Regions from separate parts of the Homo sapiens genome. Here region 2 is linked to region 1. The links are contacts of gene promoters, found by promoter capture Hi-C in human tissues and cell types (Jung and others, 2019). All regions are on one chromosome and are shown on one strand. Each heading gives the region's core, a stretch centred on a gene start or on the middle of the fragment in contact. The rest is flanking DNA. Distances are from core to core; before and after follow the strand shown.

Region 1 (5,680 bases), core at 1,638-4,137:
AAACAGAAGAGAGCAATTGGGAACAAGACCACATGTCTGTACCCCAGCAACAGAAAGGGTGGTGACAAAGGCAGTTGGATTTACCCCACAAAGTCCTGGAGCATTTGGTTGAGACATGGGGGTAGGCGCAGATGCCTGATGTGCTTAAGAGAGAACTCGGGGAGGGAAATTGGAGAAAGAGTTCCTGAAGAGTGACGCTGTGAAGACAGCAGAGAAGCACAGGGTCCAGCGAGCTCTTTCTGTTCTGCTCCATCCTCAAGGATGGGCAGACCCTCTGCCAGTTTGTGAGTGACCAGAATGATCTGCCAGAGAGGCACCCAATGGCCCTAGGAGGCCCTAGTGACTGGGTGGGCAGGGAGGGCGGACCGGCACCCTGGGGAAGGTTGGGGCACCCTCTGGGGGGGACAGGGGCCTCCCCTCTACTCCAGTCTGCTTGTGCCATGATTCCTGCCTCCCTTCTTTACAGCTCTGCTAAGGAATACGTGCCTGTATGTAATATGTGCACACCCCGAACTCACACCAGGACAGCACACACTGCCAACACCCTAGGCTTCTTTGGCCCCGATGCCTCCACCCTCGGGCCTTGGCTGAGTGAGGTCCCAGGAGGGTGCAGGTGGGAGACCTGGCTGGCTGCCGATGGGCCATGGATGGCCAGTTTGGGCATGAGAGGAAGAGGGTGCAGAGGACTCTGGGGTCTTGCCTCAGGACTGGCGGTGGGGGGTGGGGGGTCCTGGGGTACACAGCAGACTCAGGATGGCCTGGGGAAGCCATCCGGCCATGTGGCATTTAAGCTTCCTAATGACATTCAGCAGAAACAGAGCTGGACACAAGAGCCCAGGGCTCAGAGTCAAGGTCCGGGCACCGCTGGCACCCACCCAGGAGAGTAGTGGGAAGCCTAGGGGTAGGGTCTGCACCTCCTTGAGGAGGGGCCTGGGGCCTGGAGTGAGTTCTGAACTGCAGCTTACCACTCTGCCTCTTCCTGAGGCCACCACACTCAGCCCAGGACTGTTCCTGGCCTGCTGGCCACCCCCTGCCCCTTGCACCCCAGCACCAATACCTTGCCCCTGCCCTCCTTCTGGGATGATCCTCCAGTCCTCCCCTCCACATCTGGGGCCTGCCTCCACCAACTGAAAACTGCAGTCAGGGCTCTTGTGGAGGGCCAGCACCCCAGTACCCCAATCCCAGGCAGCCCTCTCCAGTGGGCCCCTCCCCTGCACTGGGCCACCCCATGGCTCCACGGAGCCCTCCCTGCCTCCCCTCCCCCGGGGGCAGCAGTGGCCACATTTAGTCCCTCCCCTTCACAGCAGCATGCCTGGGAATGCTGTACACATTCACATGTCTGCTGTCTGTCCTCCTCCCACCCGGATAACGTGTCCACCCAGTGCTGGAGATCTCAGCAGGCCCCCAGCCCTTCTCAGGCCCCTCTCAGCAGCGGACTCAAGCCGCTTCCCCACGTGCTGCACCATACCTGGGCCCGGGGCCCCCTGCCTGGTGGCTGCTCCCGGGGTCCAACTCTAGACTTCACGGGGACAGTCGCAGGGTCACTCCCTCAGCCACCACCTCTCCAGACGGGACGAGCTAATGACTCCCGACTCCTGCTCCATGCCTGCACCGCACAGCCTCGCAGCGAGTGCCCCTGGGCCTACGGGGCCTCCCCTCTCGCCACCAAGCCTCCACACTGCGCGGTGCCCCGCCGCCCGGAACCACAGTGGTCTCGCTTCCCACCCAAGACCCAACCTGCCCTCCCGTCCTGGGCCGCCAGCCCAGAACCCGCAAACCGGGAGACCCTAGGACCCCGCGTGCCTGCACGTCCGCCTCACCCCCGCACGCGCCCTCGGTCCTCGGATCCCGCCCTCTCAGGACAGTGCCAGTCCCACGAAGGCGCAAATGCCGCCCGTACTGCTCCACCCTGGCGGAGGGCACCCAGGTCGGAGAGTCCGCACGTGGGTGCCCTGTCCGTCCTGATGCTGAACATAACCTAAATACAAGCCTAAACATGACCAGACCCGAACCCCTGACCCTGACCCCACCCCTAATCCTGACCCTAACCCTAAACCCAACCCTAACCCTAAACCTAACCCCTAACTCTGACCCTACCCCTAATCCTGACCCTAACCGTAAAACCAACCCTAACCCTAACCCCTAATGCTGACCCTAACCCTAAATCCAGTCCTAACCCTGACTCTAACCCTAACCCTGACCCTAACCCTAAAACCCAACCCTAACCCTAACCCTGACCCTAACCCTAAACCCAACCCTAACCCTAGACCAGACCCTAACCCCTGACCCTGACCCCACCCCTAATCCTGACCCTAACCATAAACCCAACCCTAACCCTAACCCCTAATGCTGACCCTAGCCCTAAACCCAGTCCTAACCCTGACTCTAACCCCTAACCCTGACCCTAAACCTAAACCCAACCCTAACCCTGACTCTGACCCCTAACCCGACCCCTGACCCTAACACCGACCCTTAACCCTGCCGGGAGGGCGCTCAGTCCCGGCTCCCACAAAGGACAGCAGCACCCGTACTGGACGGCACCCCCGGAGGGACCCGGGCCTGAGGACTCTGCTGCTCCAGCGCCCCAGCTCACGATCGTCCAGGACCCGTCGGGTCCCTCAGCACAGCGCGGCCCTGTCGCTCTCCTGACCACGCCCCTCATGGCCCCGCCCTATGCCTCGCCCCTGGCCCTCGCGCCCCGCGGCTCCCTCCGCCGAGTCCAGGCCCGACGCGCCTGCGCCCTCTGAACACGCCCCTCCCCGCCCCTATCCCCACCCCTTACCGCCTGGCCCCGCCCACGCCCCTTGCCGCGGGGTGGGAGCCCAGACGCACACCGCGCATGCTCCGAGCGCGGCGCCCCCGACGCGGCGCTCGGCTCGGCTCGGGCATTTCCGCCTCTTTGTTTTAAACTCCGGACGGGCTTTTTTCTCCTCCTCTTGGGGGGGACCCAGAGGGAGCGGCGCCCCCTCCCCCCTCCGGCGCGGACCCCGCGTGCGCCTTGCTCGCCCGCAGCCCCGAGACCGCAGGTCAGTGAGTCCGCCCCGCCTGGCCTGGGCCCTCGGCGCCCGCTCCTCAGGCTGCGGCCTCGGCCCGTGTCCGGCCCGGAAGGCTCCGAACCCCGGGCCCGCGCTCCGTCGTCCCCGTCGGCCTGGCCCGGGAAGCCCTTGGCAGGCCCGGGAGGGCCGGCACCCCAGCCCAGTCAGGACTCCGGGAGGTCGAAGACCCCAGCCCAGGCAGGACTCCGGGAGGGCCAAGAGCCCAGCCCAGGCAGGACCCCGGGAGGGCTGGGACTCCAGCCTAGGCAGGACGCAGGGAGGGCAAGACCCCAGCCCAGGCAGGACTCCGGGAGGTCGAAGACCCCAGCCCAGGCAGGACCCAGGGAGGGCTGGGACAGCAGCCCAGGCAGGACGCAGGGAGGGCAAGACCCCAGTCCAGGCAGGACGCAGGGAGGGCAAGACCCCAGCCCAGGCAGGACTCCGGGAGGTCGAAGACCCCAGCCCAGGCAGGACCCAGGGAGGGCAAAGACCCCAGAACAGGGAGGGCCAAGACCCCAGACCAGGCAGGACCCCGGGAGGGCCAAGACCCCAGACCAGGCAGGACCCAGGGAGGGCGAAGACCCCAGCCCAGGCAGGACCGCGGGAGGGCAGGGACCCCAGACCAGGCAGGACCCCGGGAGGGCCAAGACCCCAGACCAGGCAGGACCCAGGGAGGGCGAAGACCCCAGCCCAGGCAGGACCGCGGGAGGGCAGGGACCCCAGACCAGGCAGGACCCTGGGAAGGTCGCGACCCCAGCCCAGGCAGGACCCAGGGAGGGCGAAGACCCCAGACCAGGCAGGACCCAGGTGAGGGCGAAGACCCCAGCCCAGGCAGGACCGCGGGAGGGCAGGGACCCCAGACCAGGCAGGACCCTGGGAAGGTCGCGACCCCAGCCCAGGCAGGACCCAGGGAGGGCGAAGACCCCAGACCAGGCAGGACCCAGGTGAGGGCAAAGACCCCAGCCCAGGCAGGACCGCGGGAGGGTAGGGACCCCAGCCCAGGCAGGACCCTGGGAAGGTCGCGACCCCAGCCCAGGCAGGACCCCGGGAGGGCTGGGTCTTCAGACCAGGCAGGACCTGAAGAGAGTTGGGCTCTGGGATTGCACAGGACCCCCAGAGTGCTAGGACACAATGACACATCATCCAGGAGGGTCTGACCCTGGGACAGGTCACCGAGAAGGGCTGGGACCCCAAGATGGGTCACCAAGGAGGGTCGGACCTGGCCACCTGGCAGGGCCCGGGGGGGCTAGGACCCTGGGAAGAATCACGGAGGAGGGCCAGACGTAGGGACCAGGCAGAATCCAAAGAATGCCAGGACCCCAGAATAGATCCCCCAGGAAGGTCCTGCCTTAAAGTGGGTCACAGACGAGGGCCAGGACCCCATGACCATAATTCAGGAGGACCTGACCCTGGAGCAGTCTTGTGAGTCCTGTGAGCACTGCTGGGACCCTGAGACTGCCCCGTCTCCCCCGGGACCCTGAGACAGCCCTGTTTTCCCCTGGGGGCCGGGACCCTGGGACAGCCTGTTTTCACCCGGGGGCCGGGACCCTGGGACAGCCCTGTTTTCCCCTGGGGGTCGGGACCCTGGGACAGCTCTGTTTTCCCCTGGGGGTCGGGACTCTGGGACAGCTCTGTTTTCCCCTGGGGGTCGGGACCCTGGGACAGCCCTGTTTTCCCCTGGGGGTCGGGACCCTGGGACAGCTCTGTTTTCCCCTGGGGGCCGGGACCCTGAGACAGCTCTGTTTTCACCTGGGGGCCGGGACCCTGAGACAGCTCTGTTTTCACCTGGGGGCCGGGACCCTGGGACAGCTCTGTTTTCCCCTGGGGGCCGGGACCCTGGGACAGCCCTGTTTTCCCCTGGGGGTCGGGACCCTGGGACAGCCCTGTTTTCACCTGGGGGTCGGGACCCTGAGACAGCCCTGTTTTCCCCTGGGGGTCGGGACCCTGGGACAGCCCTGTTTTCCCCTGGGGGCCGGGACCCTGGGACAGCCCTGTTTTCCCCTGGGGGTCGGGACCCTGGGACAGCCCTGTTTTCCCCTGGGGGCCGGGACCCTGGGACAGCCCTGTTTTCACCTGGGGGCCGGGACCCTGGGACAGCCCTGTTTTCACCTGGGGGCCGGGACCCTGAGACAGCCCTGTTTTCTCCCAGGGCCCGGCACCCTGAGACTGGACAGTGAGAAGGGCTCATGACATGGACAGGCTTCTAGATGACCAGGACCTCAAACGGGGTCACTTAGGGTCGGGACACTGGTGTGGACTGGGAAGAAGGCTAGGCTCTCAAAGAGGACCTGATGAGAGCTGGAACTTCCAGACAGGTCCTCAGAGGGCTGGGACTCCTGAACAAGTCACTGAGGAGCATGTAGGCCCCAAGACTGGACTGTAAGGAGTACTGGGACCCTCGGGGGGGAATCCAGCAGTGTCCTGAATCTGCCCAGTCCACTCAGCTGGATGCACCTGCTGTGAAGGCCAGGCATCTGGCATCCTGGTACCCGAGGCCCTTTCCATGAGACCCTGGGCCAGCCCCACAGCCCCTGCACATGAACCGCCTAGGTGATACCTGGGGTAGGTATGAGGCAGGGGCCTCAGGGTTCCAGGAGCTCCCAGCCCACAGGCTCCACACCTCAGGCTGGCACTGCACCCTCCCA
Region 2 (5,680 bases), core at 3,181-5,680, 240 kb after region 1:
AATGTGAGATCTAAAACTATAAAACTCATGGAAGAAAATGTGTGAAATGTTCTGTGAGATTTTTAGCCATGACACTAAAAGCTTGATCCCATGAAGGAAACAGATAAACTGGATTTCATCAGCGTGAAGAACTTTATAATATGCTGTTGAAAATAGCCCATATGAACAATAGGTGAATAGATAACCTGTAAGTCCATAACATAGGGTAGCATTCAATAATAAAAAGATAAGCTATCAAGCAACAACAAGACTTGAAGGAACCTTAAATGCATATTGCTCAATGAAAGAAGCCAATCTGAAAAGGTTCCATACTGTATGATTCTAACTATAGAACATTCTGGAAAAGGCAAAATTATGAAGACAGTAAAAAGAGCAGTAGGCCAGGCGCAGTGGCTCACGCCTGTAATCCCAGCACTTTCGGAGGCCAAGGCAGTCAGATCAACTGAGGTCTGGAGTTCGAGACCAGCCTGGCCAACATGGTGAAGCCCCACCTTTACTAAAAATACAAAATTAGCTGGGCGTGGTGGCATGCGCCTGTAATCCCAGCTACTCAGGAGGCTGAGACAGGAGAATCACTTGAACCTGGGAGCTGGAGGTTGCAGTGAGCCGAGATTGCACCATTGCACTCCAGCCTGGGCAGCAAGAGTGAAACTCGATCTCAAAAAAAAAAAAAAAAAAAAGCAGTAGTTGCTAGGGGTTCAGGAAGAAAGAGGGAGGGTGGAGCACCAGAGATTTTTAGGGTGTTTAAACTATTCTGTATGATACTGTTTTGGTGAAAACAAGTCATTTTACATTTGTCAAAACCCATAGAATACAGCACAGAATGAAGCCTAATGTAAACTATGGACTTAGGTTAATTGTGATGTATGAATATTTGCTTGTCAATTGTGCCGTATGTGCCACACCAATGTAAGATGTTAATAATAGGAGAAAGGGAGGCCAGACATGGTGGCTCATGCCTGTAATCCCAGCATTTTGGGAGGCTGAGGTGGGTGGATCACGAGGTCAGGAGTTCGAGATCAGCCTGACCAACATGGTGAAACTCCATCTTTACTAAAAATACAAAAATTAGCCAGGCGTGGTGGCGTGTGCCTGTAATCCCAGCTACTCAGGAGGCTGAGGCAGGAGAATCGCTTGAACCCAGGAGTCGGAGGTTGCAGTGAGCCAAGATTGTGCCACTGCACTCCAGCCTGGGTGACAGAGTGAGACTCCGTCTCAAAATAATAATAATAATAATAATAATAATAATAATAATAATAATGGGAGAAAGGGGAAAGGGGGATGTGAAAGTGTATAAAAGAACTCTGGGCCGGGTGCAGTGGCTCACGCCTGTAATCCCAACACTTTGGGAGGCCAAGGTGGGCAGATTACGAGGTCAGGAGTTCAAGACCATCCTGGCCAACATGGTGAAACCCTATCTCTACTAAAAATACAAAAATTAGCTGGGTGTTATGGCAGGCACCTGTAATCCCAGCTGCTCGGGAGGCTGACACAGGAGAATCGTTTAAACCCAGGAGGCAGAGGTTGCAATGAGCCGAGATCGTGCCATTGCACTCCAGCCTGGGTAGCAAGAGCGAAACTCTGTCTCAAAAAAAAAAAAAAAAAAAAGAAACAAAACAAAAAAAACTCTGTACTTTCTGCTCTATTTTTCTTTTTTTTTTTTTTCTTGAGATGGAGTCTGGCTCTGTCACTCAGGTTGCAGTGCAGTGGCGTAATCTCGGCTCACGGCAGCGTCTGCCTCCCTGGTTCAAGAAATACTCCTGCGTCAAACTCCCGAGTAGCTGGAATTACAGACGCGTACCACCACACCCAGCTAATTTTTGTATTTTTAGTAGAGGTGGGGTTTCATGTTGGCCAGGCTGGTCTTGAACTCCTGACATCAGGTGATCCGCCCACCTTGGCCTCCCAAAGTACTGGGATTACAGGAGTGAGCCACCGCGCCCGGCCTCTGCTAAGTTTTTCTATAAACCTAAAACGGCTTAAAGAAAAAATCAATTTTGGCCAGGCGTGGTGGCTCATTCCTATAATCCCAGCTACTTGGGAGGCCGAGGCAGGAGAATTGCTAGAGCCCAGCCTGGGCCACATAGACCCCATGTCTTTATAAAAAAAGAAAAAAAAAGAATATTTTGTCAAACCCAATGTCATGAAATGATTTTCTCCGGCATCATCTTCCAAGAGTTTTATAGTTTTAACTCTTACATTTACATCATTGATCCACTTCGAGTTAACTTTTGTATGTGTATTAATTAGGTTGAGTCCGAATTCATTCTTTTTTTTTCTTTTTTTTTTGAGATAGAGTCTCTCTCTATTGCTAGGCTGGAGTGCAGTGGTGCGATCTCGGCTCACTGCAACCTCCGCCTCCCGGGTTCAAGCGATTCTCCTGCCTCAGCCTCTCGAGTAGCTGAGTAGCTGGGACTACAGGCACGTGCAACCATGCCCAGCTAATTTTTGTATTTTTAGTAGAGACGAGGTTTCACCATCTTGGCCAGGATGATCTCGATCTCCTGACCTTGTGATCCGCCTTCCTCAGCCTCCCAAAGTGCTGGGATTTTGGGCATGAGCCACCATGCCCGGCCCGAATTCATTCTTTTGCATGTGGATATTCAGTTGTCCCAACACCATTTGTGAAAAAGACTTTTCTTTTCCCATCGAGTGGTCTCGGCATCCTTGTCAAAATCAGTTAACCATAAATGTAGGGGTTTATTTCTGAACTATATTCCATTGGTCTGTGTCTATGCTGTCTTGACTACTGTAGCTTTGTACTAAATTTTGAAATCAGAAAGTGGGAGTGCTCCCAATTTTGTTCTTTTTCAATATTATTTTGGCTGTTAAGGTTCCTTGAATTTTCTTTTTTTTTTTTTTTCTTTTTGAGACAGAGTCTCACTCTGTCACCCAGGATGGCGTACAGTGGTGCAATCTCAGCTCACTGCAACCTTCGCCTCCCAGGTTCAAGCGATTCTCTTGCTTCAGCCTCCTGAGTAGCTGGGACTACAGGCGCACACCACTACGTCCAGCTAATTTTTGTATTTTTAGTAGAGATGGGGTTTTGCCATGTTGGCCAGGCTGGTCTTGAACCCCTCATCTCAGGTGATCCGCCCGCCTCTGCCTCCCAAAATGCTGGGATTACAGGTGTGAGCCACTGCGCCCAGCCAAAATTCAGAACTTCTGTTCTCCTAAAGACTGGTAAGAGAGTGAAAAGACAAGCCACAGACTGCAAGAAAATATTTCCAAATTACACATCTTGCAGGATTTTTAACTAGAATATAAAGAACTCTCAAAACTCAATGACATTACAAACAACTCAGTAAACAAGCAAAGATTCTAAGACACTTCACTGTGAAAGCTATACAGATGAAAGATGCCTAATTAGTCAGTAGAGAAATAGCAGATTAAAACCACAATGAGACACCCCTACACGAGTACTAGAATGACTAAAATAAATTAATTGAATTATTGATTTTTATTATTACTATTTTTTTCCTAGACGGAGTCTTACTCTGTCTCCCAGCCTGGAGTGCAGTGGCACGATCTTGGCTCACCGCAACGTCCACTTTCTGGGATCAAGCAATTCTCCTGCCTCAGCCTCCCGAGTAGCTGGGATTACAGGTGTGTGCCACCACACCCAGCTAATTTTTGTATTTTTAGTAGAGATGGGGTTTCACCATGTTAGCCAGGCTGGTCTCGAACTCCGGACCTCAAGTGATCTGCCCGCCTCGGCCTCCCAAAGTTCTGGGATTACAGGCATGAGCCACCGCGCCCAGCTAAATTATTTCTCTAAGCTGTGCCAAACTGAGTACCAGAGGAGATGAGCAAGCGCAGGTCTCATGCCTGTCGGTGGGAATGCAGATGGTGCAGCTGCCTCGGCAAATTGTCGGGTGGTTTCTCAGGAAGGAAACATGTCCTTACAATACGACCCAGCAAAACCACTCAAAGGCATTTACCCAAAAGTCATGAAAACATGTTTACACAAATGCCTGTGTGCAAACGTTTATATATAGTGGCTTTATTCATAATTGTGCAAAATGAAACAATACACACGTTTTTCAGCTGGTAAGTGGATCCACAAACTGAGGTGTGTCCATGCAGTGAAATTACCACACAGCAACCAAAGAAGTGTGTTACTGATACTCCCAGCACCACAGATGAGTCTCGAAAGAAGCTAGACTCAAAACCTCTGGAGGGTGCGATTCCGTTTATACCACATTCTAAAAAAGGCAAAATTGGCTGGGTGCAGTGGCTCACGCATGCAATCCCAGCATTTCGGGAGGCCAAGGTAGGTGGATCACCTGAGGTCAGGAGTTTGACACCAGCCTGGGAATCATGGTGAAACCCTGTCTGTACTAAAAATACAAAAATTAGCCAGGCATGGTGGCTGGTGCCTGTAATCCCAGCTGCTCGGGAGGCTGAGGCACAAGAATCGCTTGAACCCAGGAGGCGGAGGTTGCAGTGAGCTGCGATCGTGCCACTGCAATCCAGCCTGGGCGACAGAGCAAGACTGTCTCAAAAAAATAATTAACTAAATAAACGAGGCAAAATTACAGTGACAGAAAACAGATCAGTGGTTGCTGGAGCTTGGGGTTGGGGAAGCTTGAACACAAAGATGCTGTTTGGGGATAGAACAGTTTGCTGGATTGTGGCTAGCTGTGGTTACATGCCTGTCTGCATTCTAGGTAAGAAGTAACCTGGGCATAGAGCAAAAGCCCCCCACCTGCTCCCCGCCCCTCCCTGCCTGGGTTGCTGCAGCGCTGTCTGGAAGTTGGCGAACATTGTTCTTATTTGTGGTTTTCATTTCTTACCGTATACACATACGGTGTGTGTATAATTAAGAAGATAGATGGTTTTATGTGTCCATTGTTTACATAAATGGTACAATAGTATGGTTTTGCAACTTGATTTTTTTGTCTCAACATTTTGTTTTATAGTTCTATACTTGTAGATCTGTTTTAACTTTCTGATAGTTTACTTCATGGTTTAATGATTTGTCCCTTACTAGTCAGAATGTGTTTTAGTTTTATTGTTAAAACACACCGGGCTGGCTGCGGTGGCTCTCGCCTGTAATCCAAGCACTTTGGGAGGCTGAGGCAAGGAGATTGCTTGAGCCCAGGACTTCAAGACCAGCCTGGGCAACATGATGAAACCCCTGTCTCTATGAAAAATACAAAAAATTAGCCAGGCTTGGTGGTGCACGCCTGTAGTCCCAGCAACACAGGAGGCTGAGGTGGGAGGATCACTTGAGCCTAGGAGGTCGAGGCTGCAGTGAGCCGTGATTACGCCACTGCCCTCCAGCGTGGGCAACAGACTGAGACCCTGTCTCAAAAAGAAAAAAAGAAAAACTGCGTGTTGCCTCAGTGCAGACCCTAGGCAGCCTGTCATGGCAGTCCCAGTGAGACTGCCTGGAATGGACCCTTGGAGGGTATGGCACTACACCTTATTAACTGTTGCTAAACTGTCGCTGAAACACACATGTCCGTTTACATTCCTGCCTCAGTTTCTGTTTCCCCAGGCCCCCGCCGTCTCTGTCTCCTCACTCCCCGCCGTTTGTTGCTGCCTCAGCTTCTGTTTTCCCCACGTCTTTGCCGTCCTGTCGTCTCACTCCCCGCCGTCTGTCCCCACCGTTCATTCCAGCCTCGGTTTCTGTTTTCCCCAGGTCCCTGCCCTCCCGTCGCCTCACGCCCACCAC

What was found. The method cuts DNA at HindIII sites, captures the fragments that hold promoters and counts their contacts. A contact is called where the count stands out against the background at its distance.
Region 2: a contact is called between a fragment that was not itself captured here and the fragment with the promoter of PCGF3 in region 1, in 1 of the 25 tissues and cell types used here (lymphoblastoid cells).

What each region holds. Positions count from the first base shown.
Region 1 is chr4:702,945-708,624 of GRCh38, forward strand. It overlaps PCGF3 (polycomb group ring finger 3), which reads left to right and starts at 2,888. Exons shown (of 11, transcript NM_006315.7): 1 at 2,888-3,026. RefSeq lists enhancers at 908-1,635, 2,676-3,661, 3,662-4,646 and a silencer at 2,611-3,310. The HindIII fragment of the contact is 34,476 bases long and covers 1-5,680 here.
Region 2 is chr4:939,789-945,468 of GRCh38, forward strand. All of the region lies in intron 1 of TMEM175 (transmembrane protein 175), which reads left to right. Among named protein-coding and RNA genes, the nearest start is that of TMEM175, 10 kb to the left of the region's middle. RefSeq lists an enhancer at 5,348-5,680. The HindIII fragment of the contact is 4,192 bases long and covers 2,335-5,680 here.